Regions from separate parts of the Homo sapiens genome. Here region 2 is linked to region 1. Evidence: promoter capture Hi-C in human tissues and cell types (Jung and others, 2019). All regions are on one chromosome and are shown on one strand. The core of a region is centred on a gene start or on the middle of the fragment in contact, and the rest is flanking DNA. Distances in the headings are between cores, read along the strand shown.

What was found. The method cuts DNA at HindIII sites, captures the fragments that hold promoters and counts their contacts. A contact is called where the count stands out against the background at its distance.
Region 2: a contact is called between the fragment with the promoter of NDUFB10 here and a fragment that was not itself captured in region 1, in 1 of the 25 tissues and cell types used here (dorsolateral prefrontal cortex).

Annotation. Positions count from the first base shown.
Region 1 is chr16:1,683,400-1,686,099 of GRCh38, reverse strand. It overlaps JPT2 (Jupiter microtubule associated homolog 2), which reads right to left. Exons shown (of 5, transcript NM_144570.3): 2 at 513-661. Among named protein-coding and RNA genes, the nearest start is that of JPT2, 6.5 kb to the right of the region's middle. The HindIII fragment of the contact is 5,684 bases long and covers 1-2,700 here.
Region 2 is chr16:1,958,240-1,960,787 of GRCh38, reverse strand. NDUFB10 (NADH:ubiquinone oxidoreductase subunit B10) reads right to left here and starts at 1,250. Exons shown (of 4, transcript NM_004548.3): 1 at 1,034-1,250. The coding sequence starts at 1,163. RefSeq lists silencers at 621-730, 1,161-1,470 and an enhancer at 2,193-2,548. The HindIII fragment of the contact is 2,906 bases long and covers 1-2,283 here.

The sequences.
Region 1 (2,700 bases), core at 39-2,538:
CGCCTGGCCAAGAAACCTTTTTCAAAGAGTCCCTCCTACTGTAACCACTAGGAGGTTGGGTAAATACTGAAGAACTATGTAGATGTGTGCTAGATCAATTCTTCCTTGTTAAGAGTTTCAATCCCACTGACGATCTGAATAAAAACACTCTCCCTCCCTAGGAAAAATGTTTAAATGCACAATAATTTGCACGCAATTTCAGGAATCTCATGGGGGTCCGTGGAACAATTGGGAGCAGCTCCCTGGCAGGAACCAGAAGCCCCCGTCCACTTTTGTGTCCTCAGTGCCTGTATTCAACCAAAGTCTCCAGAACAGATGGAGAATTCAAGACTACTCAAGTCACCTTCAAGAGAGAAAGTACAAATCAGAACGTTTTCATTTTGGAAGAACTCTGATAACAAGTGATTACCTGAACCAGACAATATGGGAAAGGATCAGTATAAAGAAACAGAAAATATTTTCAAAAGAGAATCGTGGAGGCCAAAGGATTAAGGATTTCCAAAGGCCCATACCTGGGGGATTTGTCCTCTTGGGTATGTTCTGAGGTTCTTCTGTTGGTCCAAAAATATTAGATGCCATCCTATTAGGCCTGCTGGAAGGAGTAGCTTCTTCTGGACTTCCAAAAAGATTGCTCGATTCTCCTCCTGGGGGCTTCATGGCCCTACAAGCACAGAGTACATGCCAATTACTGATGGCAGACCTGAAAGCTTGTCACTGTGCAAGGATTTTGGCACAACTAGACAGGGTAAAAGTATTTTGTTTTTTTCTTTTTGAGACAAGGTCTCATTCTGTCACCCAGGCTGGAGCGCAGTGACGTGATTTTGGCTCACTGCAACCTCTGCCTCCTGGGCTCAAGTGATCCTCCCACCTCAGCCTCCTGAGTAGCTGGGATTACAGGCACCCACCACCACAGCTGGCTAATTTTTTGTATTTTTGGTAGAGACAGGGTTTTGCCATGTTGCCAAAGTTGGTCTTGAACCCCTAAGCTCAAGTGATCTGCCCACCTTGGCGTCCCAAAGTGCTGTGATTACAGGTATGAGCCACCATACCCAGCAAAAGTATTTTCTTAACATCTACTGAGAAATCACATACCACCATTAGTTAATACTGGTATGACTAGTTTACAGACGCCAGACTACTTCTGCTGCTCTTTAGTTTCCCTTAAAAGTATTCTTTTTTTTTTTTTTTTGAGATGGAGTCTCGCTCTGTCGCCCAGGCTGGAGTGCAGTGGCACGATCTCAGCTCACTGCAACCTCTGCCTCCTGGGTTCAAGTGATTCTCCAGCCTCAGTCTCCTGAGTAGCTCAGATTACAGGTGCCTGCCACAACACCTGGCTAACTTTTGTTTGTTTTTTTTGAGACGGAGTTTTACTCTTGTTGCCCAGGCTGGAGGAATGCAATGGCGCAATCTCAGCTCACCACAACCTCCGCCTCCTGGGTTCAAGCAATTCTTCTGCCTCAGCCTCCCACGTAGCTAGGATTACAGGTATGCGCCACCACACCCAGCTAATTTTGTATTTTTAGTAGAGACGGGGTTTCGCCATGTTGGTCAGGTTGGTCTCGAACTCCTGACCTGGGGTGATCCACCTGCCTCGGCCTCCCAAAGTGCTGGGATTACAGGTGTGGGCCATCGCACCTGGCTCTTGAATCACTTTTTATTGTAAAAACTTAAACTTAAGAACTAATAAGGAATTGCCACAAAGCTCTATTTCTAGAGCACTATCTACATTAAAAACCGGTGAAACGCTGAATTCATAACAACTGGAAAAACTTTTAAATGCATTTGAGAGAGAGGCTTACTGAAATTGAGATTTAAACCAGTGAGTGGCACATGCTCTCTCACTAGTCCTAAGCAATGGGACTGTCTGTGATCCCAGACGTTTAGAAACGAAGTCAGCCCTCTGTATCCACGGGCTCTGCTTCCATGGATTCAACCAACCTCAGATCAAAATGTCAGAAATAAAAGGATGGTTGCATCTGTACTGAACATCTACAGACTTCTTTTCTGTCATTATTCCCCAGGTGATACGGTGTAACAACTATGTGCATAGTATTAGGTATTATATGTAACCTTGTAACCTAGAGATGATTTAAAAGCATATGGAGGATGTGCATAGGTTATATGCAAACATTACACCACTTTATATCAAGGACTTACACATCCTTGGATTTTGGCATCCTGGGGGTCCTGGAACCAACTCCCGCAGGATACCAAGGATGACCATACTTGAAATTACAGGGCTCAACATCACACAAAAACTATGATATGAGGTTAGATCTCACTGGAAAGCTTTGCAAACACTGACCACTCAAGGTTTGGTTAACAAAAATAACAGTTTCTCCTCAAAAGATCTAGAAAGAGCGCTGAGGGCTCCTTGTGACTGGATGTGAATGGAGTTCTCAGATCTCCTGCTATAAAGCAGGAAGGCAGAGAGTGCTTCAGTCTCCGCCTGCAGAGACCCACGGGCTGGCTACTGTACCCCAGAAACCAAGCGTGTGCTGGCCGACCTCTGAAGTGGTGCCCAGGGCCCCTGTCCACTCAGGAGGCTGGGGGAGGTGGATGCCAAACTTCCTGTCAGCAGTTGCCATTTCCTGGAGGATTTGAGGAGGGAGAAAAAAAAAGACAGGTGCACTTAAGAAAAATTATTTTTTAAAAATAACCAATAACCAAGCTTAAATGAGAAAGGGCTGTCCGGGAGCA
Region 2 (2,548 bases), core at 1-2,500, 270 kb before region 1:
GGCTCCAACAGGGAGCCTCCAGCAAGCAGAACTTACCACCTTACGGCCTCAGCTTCCTCACTGGGAAATGAACGAGCTAAAAGGAGAGCTCGAACATCCAGACACATAGGACAGACATGCTCTACAACTGCTACAAAAGAGAGGGAGCTGGGTCCGCTGTTGCACGGTTTCCAGATCTTTGGGGGTTTGATTTGGAGACTTCACCCTCTTACGGAAGAACCACCAGAGCATGCTATGCACCCCAAGTGTTCAAAAAGAACTGAACCAGGCTGGACACGGTGGCTCAGGCCTGTAATCCCAGCACCTGGGGGCCAAGGTGGGAGGATCACCTGAGGTCAGGAGTTCGAGACCAGCCTGGCCAACATGGTGAAACCCCGTGTCTACTAAAAATATAAAAATTAGCTGGGCGTGGTGGTGGTGCGCCTGTAATCCTAGTACTGGGGAGGCTGAGGCAGGAGAATCGCTTGAACCCGGGGTGGGGCAGAGGTTGCAGTGAGCCGAGATCGCGCCACTGCACTCCAGCCTGGGCAACAGAGTGAGACTGTCTCAGGAAAAAAAAAAACAACAAAAACTGAACTGGGCATTTTCCCGGTTCGTTCCAGAGATGCTGAATTTGGGCATCTCGGCCATCACCCCGACACTTGGTCATCCGGCAGAGAGACATTTGAGAGAGGCCTGAGGCCAGCGGTGCAGTGGAGGGGTGCCCGGGGCGGCGGGGGGCGGAGAGCAGTGCGGGGTCCTGGGGCAGTGGGCGCTGGGTGCGGCAGGGAGGGAAGAGTCCTGGGAAGAAGCGGGGCATCCCGGGGTGCAGGGGAGAGTAAGGGATCCTGGGAGGTGAGGTCCGGGGTGCAGTGGGAGGCCAAAGGAGGCGACGGAGCTCGGAGGTCTCCGGGGGTGGGGAGTTGTCCCCGGGGTGCAGCGGGGGGCGGTCTCAGGCAGACGGGACCCCGGAGGCATTGGAGGATCCAGGCAGGGTGTGGGATCCAGGGGTCCCCAGAGGCCGGCGAGGGAGCCCCGGGCTGGGGCTTCGTACCTCTCACGAGGGTCACGGGTCGGTCCACGATGAGGTCGAACGCTTTCATCATGTAGACGATGGGATTGGGCTGCACCGGCGTGCGGCGCGGGGGCTCAGGGTACACATCCTTGTCCCAGCTGTCCGGCATGGCGGCGGCGGGCGCGGACTCCGCTCCCGGACGCGCTGCCCTGGCCTCTACCTCCGTCCGGGTCCCGCGGCCTAGGTCGCCCGCTACAGAGGACGCCGAGGGCGGCTGCGTCTGCGCGCTGGCGCCGCGATGCACCATGGGACTTGTAGTTCCCCGGCTCCGCCGGGCGCGGCCGGGACCCGCCTCGCCGCAGGGCGCCCCCGCGTGGGGCCTCCGTTCTCGGTCTGTGCCGAGCGCCTACGCGGTGCTGGTCGCTGGTCTGGGCGCCTGGGAAGCAGCCGCGAACCGGACAGATTCCTGCTTACGATGAAAGAAACAGACAAAAGGCAACTGACATAAGGAATAGGAGGGGGTCATTCGGTTCCCACTGCGCGCCAGGCACTGTGCTGAGTGCAGCAGGGAATAAGATAAACTGTGATGGAGAACACAGGCCGTTAGAGCGCACACGACAAAGTGAACAAATAGCACGCGATTCCAAACACCCTACTCCTCCAGGAAGCTTTCCTGGATTGCCTAGTCCCTACAGACTTCTCTGGGCCCCGCTCTCTACAAGGGCCCCTCATGGACTGGCTGGTGCCAGTTAACTTGGGAGCCTGTCTGGGGGAGGGCAGGGAGCAGACCAGGAGGCAGGGCTTGCCCTTAGGCGGCTCATAGGGAGAAGGCACCTACCCTGGGCACAGGGCCCTCTGGCCGGCTTTGATGGTTCCATCCTGGCCCTGGGGCACTCTGGTGCTTCTAGGCAGCTCCACTGAGCAGGGTCCTGCTGGCCACATCTTCAGTCTCCACACCTGGCACGGCCCCTGGCTGCTATCCAGGGGGGACACTGGTCATGTCCTGTCCTGAGGTTGAGGCCAGCGACACAGAACCATCAACCCTACAGACAAACAGTGAGAGGTGACAGCGTGCTGGCAGTCCTCAGAGCCCTCGCTCGCTCTCGGCGCCTCCTCTGCCTGGGCTCCCACTTTGGCGGCACTTGAGGAGCCCCTTTCTGGGCTGGCCAAGGCCAGAGCGGGCTCCCTCAGCTTGCGGGGAGGTGTGGAGGGAGAGGCGCAGGCGGGAACCGGGGCTGCGCGCGGTGCTTTGCGGGCCAGCGCGAATTCCAGGTGGGTGTGGGCTCGGCGGGCCCCGCACTCGGAGAGCCTGGCCGGCCCTGCCGGCCCTGGGCAATGAGGGGCTTAGCACCCGGGCCAGCGGCTGCGGAGGGTGTGCTGGGTCCCCCAGCAGGCCGGCCCACCGGCGCTGCGCTCGATTTCTCTCGCCAGGCCTTAGCTGCCTCCCCGCGGGGCAGGGCTCGGGACCTACAGCCCGCCATGCCTGAGCCTCCCCCACTCCGTGGGCTCCTGTGCGGCCCGAACCTCCCCGACGAGCGCCGCCCCCTGCTCCAG